Regions from separate parts of the Homo sapiens genome. Here regions 1 and 2 are each linked to region 3. The links are contacts of gene promoters, found by promoter capture Hi-C in blood cells and fetal thymus (Javierre and others, 2016). All regions are on one chromosome and are shown on one strand. The core of a region is centred on a gene start or on the middle of the fragment in contact, and the rest is flanking DNA. Distances in the headings are between cores, read along the strand shown. Region 1 overlaps C3orf38 (chromosome 3 open reading frame 38). Region 2 overlaps CHMP2B (charged multivesicular body protein 2B). Region 3 holds the start of GBE1 (1,4-alpha-glucan branching enzyme 1).

What was found. The method cuts DNA at HindIII sites, captures the fragments that hold promoters and counts their contacts. A CHiCAGO score of 5 or more calls a contact.
Region 1: a contact is called between a fragment that was not itself captured here and the fragment with the promoter of GBE1 in region 3, in 1 of 17 cell types (total B cells). The highest score is 6.4, in total B cells.
Region 2: a fragment that was not itself captured here is called in contact with the fragment with the promoter of GBE1 in region 3 in 2 of 17 cell types (total CD4 T cells and total B cells); the score reaches 8.1 in total CD4 T cells.

What each region holds. Positions count from the first base shown.
Region 1 is chr3:88,154,073-88,158,982 of GRCh38, forward strand. C3orf38 (chromosome 3 open reading frame 38) reads left to right here. Exons shown (of 3, transcript NM_173824.4): 3 at 1,949-3,893. The coding sequence ends at 2,563. Among named protein-coding and RNA genes, the nearest start is that of C3orf38, 6.6 kb to the left of the region's middle. The HindIII fragment of the contact is 1,595 bases long and covers 508-2,102 here.
Region 2 is chr3:87,231,513-87,235,995 of GRCh38, forward strand. The region is part of intron 1 of CHMP2B (charged multivesicular body protein 2B); the gene reads left to right. Among named protein-coding and RNA genes, the nearest start is that of CHMP2B, 6.4 kb to the left of the region's middle. The HindIII fragment of the contact is 2,378 bases long and covers 667-3,044 here.
Region 3 is chr3:81,759,504-81,763,915 of GRCh38, forward strand. It overlaps GBE1 (1,4-alpha-glucan branching enzyme 1), which reads right to left and starts at 2,142. Exons shown (of 16, transcript NM_000158.4): 1 at 1,872-2,142. The coding sequence starts at 2,014. RefSeq lists enhancers at 1,421-1,590, 1,931-2,220, 2,007-2,615 and silencers at 1,691-1,770, 2,271-2,370. The HindIII fragment of the contact is 5,689 bases long and covers 1-2,843 here.

The DNA.
Region 1 (4,910 bases), core at 55-2,554, 6.4 Mb after region 3:
AATTTTAACTTTAGCTCCGTGTAATTTTTTTTCACTTTAGAAGAATTTTATTGCAAATTCTTTCTCACTTTTAAGACGTTTTTGGTATTGCAAAAATGTCATGAAAGGAACTTAAAATTTTACTTTAAAAAAAATTTTCTTTTAAGTTCCAGGGTACGTGTGCAGGTTTGTTAGATAGGTAAACATGTGCCATGGTGGTTTGCTGCGCCTATCAACCTATCACCTAGGTATGAAGCCCAGCATGCGTTAGCTATTTTTCTTGATGCCCCCGCCCCCACATTGGAACCTAAATATTTTTTATACTTTTTTTTTTTTAACTAGAAAAAGTCCTATTGTAGAAATATTCTCCAGCGGACATTGGCTGTTTCTGTTCTTTATATTATCTCCACTGTACATTTTAGATACTGCACAAATATTTAAGTGTTGCTTGAATTAACCTCTATGTAATTTGCAGATTTTTAAACTACATACCACATTTTTTGAATTAATGAGGTTTCACAGTGAGAAAGCTTTGCCTTCACACTAGGAAAGAATCTTTAAGAGCTTTCTTACTTTATGTACTGATAAGAGCATTGACTTTGAAATCATACAAATACGACTTCAAATTAGGGTCTGCAATATACTAGGTGTGTTAAATTAGGCAAATAACCAGTGCCACGCACAGTGCCCAGTGTATTAAATAGCAGGTGCTCAGTAAACCTAAGATCTCATACATCTCAGTAAAGTACTGTGTTGTGGAACACATGGATGAATGAGATCTAGTGTATCAGGTAGATTTTTACAGTAACTTTTTTTTTTTTTTTTTGAGACAAAGTCTGCCCTGTCACCCAGGCTGGAGTACAGTTGGCATGATCTCAGCTCACTGCAGCCTCCACCCTCTGGGTTCAAGCACTTCTCCTGCCTCAGCCTCCCAAGTAGCTGGAATTACAGGCATGCGCCACTACACTCAGCTAATTTTTGTGTTTTTAGTAGAGACGGGGTTTCACCATGTTGTCAAGACTGGTCTTGAACTCCTAACCTCAAGTGATCTGCCTGCCTCAGCCTCCCAAAGTGCCGGGATTACAGGCATGAACCACCACGCCCAGCTTACAGTAACATTTTCTGTGAAAAAAGAGAAATAATAGAATAAAATTAATCCCAGTTATAGAAAATAACCTGTTTCAATCACCGTAAGAGTATCTATTTAAAGACAATGAAAATGCTTGCTTATATTAACTTTATGTCATTTATATGCAAAATGCATCCATTTAAAGTGAACGTTTTGAAGGTTTTCACATATATACCTGTGATATACATATATACCTGTGAAAACACTGCCACAATCTGAGGAAACACTTACATAAATCATCATATAATTTATATATTTTTATATATGACTGTTCATACTGATTTTTTTTTTTTTTTCACACGGAGTCTCGCTCTGTTGCGCGGGCTGGAGTGCAGTGATGCTATCTTGGCTCACTGCAACCTCCACCTCCCAAGTTCAAGTGATTCTCCTGCCTCAGCCTCCTGAGTAGCTGGGAATACAGGTACACGCCACCATGCCCGGCTAATTTTTGTATTTTTAGTAGAGACGGGGTTTCACTATATTGGCCAGGCTGGTCTCAAACTCCTGACCTCACCATCCGCCTGCCTCCTCCTCCCAAAGTGCTGGGATTACAGGCGTGAGCCACCACGCCCGCCAAGTTCATACTGATTTTTAAATTGGCCTTACTAAACCTTACTCTCTTAGCTGAATTTTCAGCAATTTAAGCTGGAAATTTCTAAAATGATTTTTCTCCTCTTGAAAAAAGATTTTTACTATGCATAATGGGTTCAGCAAGTTCACATATGGTTCATTTCTCTCTGGTGTAATGGGTTCATTCAAACTTAATAGGCTAGATAGAAAAATAGATATGAAAGTTAAACCTTAGTGTTATTTTGTATTTATTTTATTTGTTTCAATCAGCAGGTGAAAGAAGATAAAAAAGCTGAAAAAGTTGATTTTCGTCGCCTAGGAGAAGAATTCTGTCATTGGTTCTTTGGACTTCTTAATTCTCAGAATCCTTTTCTAGGACCACCTCAAGATGAATGGGGACCACAGCACTTCTGGCATGATGTGAAGCTTAGGTTTTATTACAACACATCAGAACAAAATGTTATGGACTACCATGGAGCAGAAATCGTGAGCCTTCGTTTGCTGTCACTAGTAAAAGAAGAATTTCTTTTTCTCAGCCCCAACCTAGATTCACATGGACTGAAATGTGCATCTTCTCCTCATGGGCTGGTTATGGTTGGAGTTGCTGGGACTGTCCATCGAGGAAACACTTGTTTGGGCATTTTTGAACAAATTTTTGGACTCATCCGCTGCCCTTTTGTGGAGAATACTTGGAAAATCAAATTTATCAACCTGAAAATTATGGGAGAGAGTTCCCTTGCTCCTGGAACATTACCGAAACCATCTGTTAAATTTGAACAAAGTGATCTAGAGGCCTTTTATAATGTAATCACTGTATGTGGTACCAATGAAGTACGACATAATGTAAAGCAGGCTTCGGATAGTGGAACTGGGGACCAAGTTTGAGGTAGTGGAAATGAGACATTGCTGAACAAAAGAGAACTGGGTTTACCTGACCCTCTAAAGCGCTAAGTACTGTCAGCCTGAAAAAAATCTTCTATACAGAAACTCTTCCAAATACTATATCAGTAATGTCTGAATGATTTCAGATGTGAAAATTGACATATTTTAGTTGAAATACCTTTCTGGACTACAGACTTACATATCATGTGAATACTTACCTATTTCTACCCGAGTTGCAGCAAGTATTCTGAAAGCTTAATGCAAATAAATCCCACTTTAGATCTTACAGCTAACTGTGTGCCTTAGAAACCAGGTAATATTTTCCTTTTACTTAGTGAATATTCTGCTAATATCTGCACTTTTCATGTGGGAAAGGATTAATAATGGTCCAGGCTTCCCCTCTTTAAGTTTCATGTTTACTTTTGTCTAACTCTGGATAATTGTATTTTACAAATGCATCTCACTGTAGTATATTTTTAAAACTATTAAATATTTTAGAGATGTTTAACGTAAACTCAAAGTTCTCATTTTAGAAAATTTAAATAACATTCTTTTTGCAAAAAAGTCCAATAATTTAACAGTTGAAGAAAAACTTACTACCTCTTTAAAGATTTGAGAAACATTTTTCAAAGTTATCAGCTGTAGTCCAAGCTAAATATCTTTTGTAATCTGCAACATTTTCCTTACTGTTTTTGGGCAGTGATAAATGCTGTTCTCGAAATAGACTTTATTCTTACCTAGGCTTCAGACAACAGTTTTATAGAGCAGTTACTGTAATACAATATAAAGGAAATATGCTGTTGAAATTTTAAAGGTATGCCCAGTTCCTAACTTTTAAACGAATTACCGTTCTTCCTCTTGGCTGATCTTGGCAGAGATGACAAAAAAAACCCCAAAACAACCCATGCATGTATAATGTGTGTATACACATATACATAAGTATACATATACTCCCACATTATAACTTAGAATATTTAGTTTTTTACCTGTTACTAGGTTTGAGTTACATGGTTGAGTTGCCAAATTATTTACATGCTTTGTTTAAATTCTTCATCACCTAGCAACTGTTTGCTGATCATGGATTTACTTAGTTACTTTAATTTATAAAATTACCATTTGGAAAAGAACTCAATTGGGAAATGTGATGACGTATTGTACATGTTACTTTTTCCTTTGCTATAATCATCTAGGGAGACTGATAAGAATTTTGGAAATGGGAGCCTGGAAACTCATCTTTGTTTTTTTAATGCTATGCCTCTTACGAGGAATACGAATTGGTATGTCCTAAAATAAGAACTTAATAAAGGAGGGAAATCCCTTTTGTCTGCTATAAGAATAGTGTATCGTTCAGATTTAATTTATAGTTGTGTTGCTCTTAGAGTTTTAGGCATTTAACGAGAACAAAGAAAATTTTATAACTGCTAGTTACACTGTTATTGTAATATAATTAAGTATAAAGAAAATAGTGTGCAAAATAATTTCCTCTCATATTTTTATAAAGGTACACAATCAGGTCACAAGTCCATCTTTATCCATCCTATACCTCTGCTTGAGTTTTGAAAACTGGGTTACCTTTTATTTCTTAGTTTGAAGTTTGAAATATCATTATAAAGTGTAATAGGTAAACATCCTAAGTAAAGGATAAAATTAAAAACCATTCTTGTTACTAGAGATACTCAAAAAGGGCAGGGATTTCCTCTAGGTACCTTTAGTATTAAACTTTTGAGTTCGTGTAAAGCACAAATAAGGCTGCAATTTCTGCACATAGTTTTGAATCAACCTTAAAAATGTAAAATCTTTTTGATAGTCTTGAGATTCTTGAGGATTAATGCTATTTTATTTCATGTTTATTTCATGAATCCCTAGATATGGGCACACTACAGCCTAATATTGGAGTGAATGCATTAACGAATGAGCAAAAACAACTTATATACTGTGTACAAAAGGCTTTTCCGCTTCTAGAGTTTATCTTTGGTTCTTCTCATCAGTGTTACTTTTTCAGTCACATAGTTTCTTTGAATTTCATACTTGAATACGCAGAAACTTTTAGGCCCCCAAAATAACTCAGATTTGTGAGGAGAAAGATACTGACTTTAAAAGCCCAGGATCAGTAAGAGACCCTGAGATTCCTGAGGCTACCTGGAAAACATTACAGGGGAAGTGTATGAAGAAACAGTATTTGGAGGAGAAAGACCTAGAGGAACTGAAGTCTGTTAGTGAAGCTTGAAGCTTGATCAGCCTTTTGTGAGAACAGCCAAAAAGCACAGTGCCAGGATTGAACTCTACTTGTGCAGGATTGAACCCCATTAGTCTTTTTATGCCAGGGAATGGTGGAGAAAGAAACCAGCTG
Region 2 (4,483 bases), core at 606-3,105, 5.5 Mb after region 3:
GATTGAAACTTGAACCCAAATCTGACTATGTTACTCCTCAGTGTAAACCCCTTTATGAAATCTCTGGCACCAACAGGATCCACTGTGAGTGTTTTAATAATGCGTGTATGGCTCTCCTTGAACTGGCCCTTCCCTTTCTTTCTAGCCATGTCTCTGGACATTTTAGCATCCAGCAGCACTGTTCTTCTGTTCATTGTTATCTCCCATACTCTTTCTCACCCTGACATATTTTTGCTTTTGATGCCCTTATGCCTAGAATTCCCTTTTTATCTTCCTCTAGCTAAGCTGAACTATCCTAGGTTTATTTCTTCTCAAAGTCTCTATGAAGTACTCCTTATGTTCCCCTTTTGTGGCATTTCTTTCTGACTTGGATTCACTAGAACCATAGTAGACCCTCCTGCACTTTCAAAGTTGGATAATGCTTATTCTGTCTCTTCTACATTCCATATTTGTAAGGGGCTTCAGAGTCTTCAGCAGAAATGAAAATATATCTGCAAGAGTTTCTAATTTAGAGATTAAATATCTAAAATAATATCATTTACTAACCAAAGTAGTATTCCAATATCCAGGGCTTAGAAGAGTCTGGATCCACACTTTGCCACCCACTGTGAACTTTAGTGCAAGTTAGAGGTAATTTGAAGAACACTACAGAGAGAAGAGGAACAAAGCTTCTTGGCTTTTGCCTCATTGGGATGATATTTGTATATGCTAGTTGTCTAGAGTTCAAAAACTGTGAGGTTTTGACTAAGTTGGGATAAATCCCCTTTCAATGTATTAGTTGTGATGCCACATTTCTGATGTTAAAAGGAAATAAAACGGAATACCCTTCAGAAACATTTTTTCTGTATTCCAGAATAAAATACACTATTCTCATGGTGGTACCTGCAGAATTCAGATCTTTCCCAGGATGCTATGTGTTCCTTTAGTGCTCCTTATTCTGGATATTTAAAAAACTCAAATTTTACTTTCTACTTAACCCCTACATTCTTGACATACCAAAGAAAAATAATTGAACATGGGATTGAGGAACACAGTATACTCTTCTGAGCATTTTCTTAGAAAAACATTCTCCCTACTTTTAGAATAGATATTTCTGTAGGAAAAATGTGTTCCCTCTGTATTTCTGCATCCCCAGCATGACAACAAAGACAGACATTTCCTTTCTGGCTACCATTTCCTATCTTCAGGTCCATTGGCCTGTGAGGCTTTTCTTCCAGGACACATTGCCTCTCATTCTCTCATTTATCTAAGATGAAAAATGTGCTTTGACAGTTTTCTGAACTGCAGTTTTATTGATGATGTTACTAAAGCCTTTGCCGTTGAGGACCAAACAAGACTCAAAAGTCTACTGACATGTGCCCATCTCAAAACCATCTTTTAGCTCTTGAAAACCAGTGGCATTTTTATGTTTATAAATTGGTTCACATGAATTCCTCAGGGCTTGAGTGACTTTTGAGAGTTACTAGTAGGAGAAAAAAATTATTTTTGCTACCGCATATGCTACTGTAGGGCTTGGCTTGACTCCCCAATTTCTCTTCAGTATTTTGCCTCTTCCAAGTCCTGCTGTTTTTCAGTTTAAACCTGGTTCTTAAGTTAGTTGGCTCTCTTGACGATGTCTAGGTAGAATAAAGCTGTTGGCATGATCCCCCTTTGTTCTTTTTGTTTTCTATAGTTGCCTTTTGTTTTCTTTTTACCGTGTATTAGAACTGATTAGTTAAGCTGATAATATTTGTCCCTGAGTGTCAGATATACCATTCCCAAAACCTGAGAAGCAAATTTGGTTTGCATATCAAATTCTAATTACTTTGTACCCACTCTCACTGTCATTTTCCTTCTGCATTTGAGTAAATCTTGTTCCTAGAACCGGAACTTTCTGGATAGTGACCTTTAATATTTCTTTTTAATGCCTTAGCTTTTGAGTTTGTCATATTTTTGCAGTTTTTTTTTCTCTTCATCAAGTCAAGATGAAACATCCTTACGTAGCCAGGACTTCTTTTCACTTTACTGTTCATTGGCAAGCTCCATCATGCCTAGTTAGCTGAATTGACGCTCACTCTGGGCTTTTCTTATATCCATAGCACAATCAGGATTTGTCCAGTGCTGTTACCAGTGTCACAGTGCCCACTATTCCCACTGACACTAGCTGTTACAGAGCTTGCAGGTAAAGTCTAAAGTAGAAGCTACCTCTTCCCTGGAGATCTTGATACCTTAAAACCAGTTAATGGAGATTATAAAGTAGGATGTGGGAACATTTTGTTTCTATCTCAATTGATATGATGATTAGGTTTAGAGTAACTGATAGGCAATAAAATCAATAGATAAAAATGTATTTTCTCAAAAGAAATACATTTAATAGTAGGAAATTTGGCTTATTAGATTAAAAAGTCTGTTATGACCTTATAGTGAAAAACACAGCATACAGTATAGTGGCTACTTCTCTAGTAGATCAGCTTGAATCCTGCTGACCGATGGTGATTTGCATACTGTCCCAGCATTCTTGAGGCATTCATCCTGAACTGCCTTGCAAACTTGAGATAGCTCCCCACCTTCCCCCAAAAGAAAGGCACTTTAAATAGTATTACTCACAAATTAATGAATGTCCATATTTATACTTGATAATTACTTTTTGCTTTTATCCTCAAATGTACAAATTATATCTGAACTAATGGTAGGGAGGACAGGCATGATTCAAGTTGGGGCTTGGCCTCAAACCCCAAGTAGAGAATTCTGGTGAGCTAGACTGGACCACATGGGAGACCTTTTTTGTTTTGTTTTTATTTTTTATTTTTTGACTTTTTATTTTTTGTAAGCAGATAAACCATATTGACTCAGAACCAAAAAAGGCAGAAACACCTTGTGTCTCTTAAGTCCAAGACTTAAGTCTATGATCTCATCACTCTACTGTAGACCTGTGTATTTCCTTCAGTAAGAAGAACCTGAAAGACTTGAGATAGGCTTTTAATGCCCAGAGTGGAGCCGGCCTGGGTGGCCTTTTCTTAAGTGTTGTGCTGGGCATGGGTGAAAAGAGGGTGGTGGATGAATCAAGCTTCCAGACCCTTTTTATCTCACTGAATGGTAAGAGAGAGAATATACCATATCATATCCATGTACCTTTGGCATTTTTACAGTGTGAAGTTTTCTATTACCACCTATTATGATGTCTTTGAAACAAACCACAAGGTAGATGAAGTCCTAGAGAATGAAAAATTGAGTGTATACCTTTATCTGCCTGAAGAAAGAAGCAGAGGATAGACAGGAGTCAAGCACTCCATCTCTCTTAGGTGGCAGCAGTACCCTGTACATGTTTCTGTCATGATCTTGCCTCACATTGAAAAATCGGGGAAGTAGAAAGTTATAAGGAAAACAGCCAATTATTTCAATGTTTCACATTTCCATTGTAGAAAGCTACCTATCATGTTTCATATTTTACTATTGTTAAATTATCTTTTTTGACAACTGATTTTGTTTTACATTTTAAAGACGTGTTAAATATGCCTGTAAGAGGAATCCTTTCACATTTCAATGTATATGTTTGTACTCCCATAGATCGCTAGTAAGTATGATATATTGGTATGCTATTTGCATGAAGAAAGGTGGGACTACAAACAAGCAAATAAATAAATATATGTATTCCCTTCTCTTAAAGAGATTGTAATCTTGGGATGGAATCATACCTACTAAGAAATAAATCTAGTGGATAATAAATTTGGCTGTAAAAACATTAAAATTGCCTCAGACCGTTCTCATATTATTCCTTCTGTATTATCTAGAAGACCAAATTATTAAATGTGGATTTAATATAGAGATTGTTTTAAAAAGAGAAGAGTAATATGTTAGTTTTATAGTATATTTCTATTGTCTCGTATGAAAATATGTTTTACTGTCTTTTCCTACTTACCATAATATGTTTTAAGGTGTTGTGATTATGTTTTAGTATGTAACATTAGCCGCTCTGAGTTTATAGCTTAGAACTGTTTAAATATTAATAGGCCTATTAACAACTATGAGGCTGTGGAATATGCAGTAGTTAATTTTCTTTATTTTTCCTTTTATGATATACAGTGACTGTTATGATACATATAGTTACATTATATTGAGAAAAATTAAACTATTTTAATTAAATTACATGTTTTGTTGAATTCTCATGTAATAATACTTGTTTTTCAGTAAAGATGGCTATATCTAGCCTTGACTCTGATTCTCAGACACCTATTGGGTGTTCAGCAATTCAGTTCACTTCTGACGGTAATTATCTAGAGTTAGGGCAGACCCTATAGGTGAAAGACAGTCCCACAAGACTGCCCTACTTCAGATGCCACTTGAAAGACGCAGATTGTGCTTCTGGTGAGTACTTCTGACTGACCAGGGTTTTCCTACAACTTCATCTTCAACTTTGATAATTCACTAGGACAACTCTCAGAACTCATCAGAGTGCTTTATTTACTGTTACTGGTTTATTTTAAAGTATACAATTAGTAATAGC
Region 3 (4,412 bases), core at 892-3,391:
AAATGTTTTATTCTTCAAGTGTTAACAATAGAAGTTACCACTAACAAATGCCAAATTACTATTTGATATGCCTAAATGGAACATGTATGCTAGCAAATGGCCATTACTCAGAACCAAGGACAAAAGTAAAATCCGGGTCAGAGTGAGGCATGAGGGCCCACTGGACGAGACTTTTCACCAAGCACACTGGATTCTCTTCCCTTCTTTATCTTGGCCTTTGTTCCCTTCATTAGTTTTGGCAAACCATGAAAGAAGATTATAAATGCTTCAATCCCAGTGGAGTTGGAAATAAAGTACATGAAAGAAACACTTAATAAAGAATGTTAATCTGTTTGTGTCATTTAAAAAAAAAAGGAAGGGGGTGTAGATAAAACATTTCCACAACTCTTCTTTAATAAATATCTTAAGTGTCCTTTTACAAAGCACACAGGTAAATTAATGTCATGGTTACAAGGACATCAAAAAAAAAATCTAACCACTACCTTTAATCACTATCTTTTGTTCTAAATTTTTTCTGACTATTTCTAAATCAAATCCAACCTTAAACCTATGACGATTATGCACTAAGTTTCTCTGAAAGCATATACTGTAAATTCTGAAAACAATTTCACAAGGCTGCTCCTCATATGGTTTATATAAGAGCATAATCATCTGATTAAGTGAGGGACAGCTCAAGGTGATTATTTTACAGAGGCCTCATTCACTACTATATACAAGCTCAAGAATGAAACTTCACATCCCTTACAATCCCTAGAGCAGTGTTTTATTTATAGGAGTTCCTCAATAAACACTTGCTGATTTGAATGCATTTAATACCTGAAAATGCTAGGACACAAACAATTTGCTGGGCTTTTTTCAAACTCCAAATCAACCCATTTTCATTACTCTCAACGCTCCTTCATGCCAGTTAACTAGTTGGATGTTTTCCATCACTCGAAAAATTGGCCATGTATATTCTGTTGCCAGGATAGTTTCCATTCTGCAGTGTCTCTCCTAAAAGGGGAGAAACTATTAAATCAAAATGGGGTAACCTCACAAGTATAACTATTACAACTTGTATAATAGCTCTTTTACTTCAAACAACAACGACAACAGAAAAAGACCTGTACCTTTTTAGTGGAACTTATGAATAGAATTATTAGCCCAGTAACTAAAGTTGTATGGTACACAATGGTAGAAGACAAGCTAAAACGACATTGGCCTGTAAAAGTTGCTTTCCTGACCTTTCTCCCTCTTCAAGATGGTTAAAGTCACACACGGACAAATGTTGATGTACATTTAACTTCTCAATGTTGATCCAAGGGGAGAAAAAATTGATCAATGTAGGTGTAATCTTCCCCTAAATGAGGAATATTAGCAAGGAAAAAACAAAAGGATATAGTGTCTGCCTGAAGGAATCCTCTTAGATATAAAATCACAACATTTGCTATGAAATAAACTAGAAAGTTTTAAATGCGTAATTACACGTGCCAGGAGTTATGCCCACGTTACTCCACAGGCCCACGCTAGTGGGTGCCAAAGTCAGAAAACCTGCAGCGGCGGTGAGTCACTCCCCAGCAGCACTCTGGGGAATAAGTGTTGGAGCCACAGCACGTACCCTATGGCGCAAGACCGCTGATTAGAACAGAGGGGAAAGGGGATGAGGAAAGAAGTTTCTTCAGCGCCCGCTCCGGGCACCAGCGCTGTCAAACCTGCCACTACGGAAGCCACAGAACCCGGTTACCCGAGTCACCCCGAGCCCCGCCCACTCAGGTTCCTCCCCGCCTGGGGCGGGGTTGGCGCGCGAGGGCCGAGGGGCGGCCCGTGTCCCGAGACGGCTCCTGGGAGGCGGGCTGCCTGTCTAAGTGGGGGTGGTGGGATTCCGGCGGTACCTGCGCTGGAAGTCCACGGCGTAGGGCTTCAAGTACGGGTCGATCTCCAGGAGTCTGGCCAGTTCGGGCACGTCAGCCAGGGCGGCATTGAGCGCCGCCTCGTAGTCCTCGGGCCGAGCCGCGGGAGTCATCGGAGCCGCCATATTCCGCCGCAGTCCAAGTAGCCGAGGCCCGAGAGGTCGAGTGGGGCCTGAGCGGGCGCTGGAGCTCTAGCTGGGACGCGGCGGCTAGGGCGGAGCCGGAGGGCGCCTAGGCGTGTCGAGGCAAGCCGAGGCGAGCCGCGGCGGTCCGGGGCCCTTTATAGCCGGGACGGAAGGCCTCCTGCCCTTTCTCCCCCCGCCAGCGGGGAGGAGCGGATCCCGGGGTGATGCCGGGACGCACGTCCGGAGCGGGTAGGAGGCACCGAGGCCTCTCCGCCCACTCACGCGGCTGGCACCTGGAGGCCGCAGGGACCTGCCCTTTCCTCCCCTTAACGGTTTTTTCCTGCTGGCGGAGGTCATTCTAGGAGGTGGGTCCCAAGCTGACCTCGCTCAGCCTTGGCCTTCCTCACCCTGACATATTCTTGGCTTTTCTTTACCCACTTAAGCACCCACTGACAGCGACCCCTTCAAATTGGACATAAGGGGTTTTTTTGGAAAGGACCGTATTTCTCAAAGTTCTGAGACTTTTGAGGGGCAGTATTTCAAACATATCATGTAAATTCACAGAGAGGGGAACAGTCAAGTGTAGCTAGAGTACTACTGCTGAAAATGTTAATACCTCTTACAACCAGGACTCTCCTAAGTTTGCCAGGTCACGTGAATTTAAAATTAACCAAGACACAGAATCCTGGAATACCGTTGGAATTCTGCTGTTCTGGTACTCTTTTCTGCATTACCAACAGCTAAGAATTTTAGCCATGGGAAGAACTTTTCTCATTCTCCGTAAGGCCAAAAAGGAAAAGGCATTTGCCTGTGTTTATAATTGTTAACAAGCTTTTCAACGATTAAACTACCTTTGATAACACAAATGATATCATTGAATTGGAACTCCACTCTGCCACTTACAGTGATAAGGCAAGAAACCTCTCTTCCTCTTGGCTTGGGAAGCTCCCACTTGGAATTCCCTTCTTTTATTGCCATTAACTGACTAGCTTCTATTTCAATAATTGCTTTTTAGGAATACAGAGTTGGACTCCAAGAGAGATGGACCCACCAAACCCAGGAGGGTCCAAGCTGCTTTACACCTAGAAACTAGAGAGGATTGAGGATATTTTTCTTGTTAAAACCCAGAACTGGAGGATCCTAGGGGTTATGGAGGAGAAACAGTATTAATCAGCCGTGGGCCTTGAATTTTAAAATATTTCAAAGGAAAGTTTTTATAAGGGGTTTCATAGACTTGAAAGATAAGTGGATATGAAGACAGACCTCAGTGTGAAAAAGTGAAGGACTTGAACGACTTTAAGACGTGCCTTGTTTTCCATAAAGATGACAAAAAACTGCTGCAGACATTTGTAAAATATAAAGCACTAAAAAAGGAAGAAAATTAAAAAAAAATAAAAACCCGAAGCAGGACAACTATTAATAACAGACCCACAGATCTACATCTCCAAGCCTAAACTTTTTTCAGAAACCCAGGCTTGTATCACTGCCTGTCTACTGAGATTTCCATTTAGCTGGCTAGGAGACCTAAACAAACTGTCTGCAAAACGTGACCTAGAATCCGTCTTCTCATCCTTCCTGCTGTCACTCTTATGCAGGCCACTGTTTTCCTTCACTTGGACCAGAATGTAGCTCTCTAACTGACTTCCCCTCTTCTACTCTTTCTCACCTCTACTCCATTCTCTGTACCAGTGTTTCTCACACTTTAATGTGCATATGAATCACCTAGGGATCTTAATTGAGTTCCGATGTGGTGCTTCAGATTGCATTTTTAACAAGCTCAGAAGTGATTCTGATGCTGGTGGTTGGGGACACAGTTTGGTGAGACTCTACACTGAGTAAATCAGACGATGTCATTTAGCAACTTAAATAGCATAGTATTTCACTTAGGGTAAAATAGAAACAGCTTATCATTCTCTAACAAGGCTTGTATAATCTGGACCCTGACTACCTTTCCAGCCACTTTTCTCATCATTTTCCAGTTTTACTATGCTCTAGTCACACTGACTTTCCTGGAACTCAGTGAATTTGTTGTATAATAGCCTCTAAGATTATTTGCTTGCTGTTCTCTCTGTTGGAAATTTTCAGGGAGCTGAGCTCTACTTGCTTAATTTTTTCCAAGCCTTCATTCCAGCCTCAGCAAAAATGTCACCTCATACCTGAGAAACTTCTGATTATAGACTCCTCAGTGTCTTCTGTATAACTTCAATCTCTTCTATGCAACAGTTAACAGAATCTAGGTGTTTGTTTTTCTCCTATTTATTGACCTTTCCCTTTAGAACCTAAGCTCCCCACGAGCACGATCCTAGCGTACATATCTGCCTACCTAGGTGGTTCACCATTGAGCACATATTTATTGAAGTCCCATGTGCCGGCCATTTTCCCACGTACTGTGGATAAA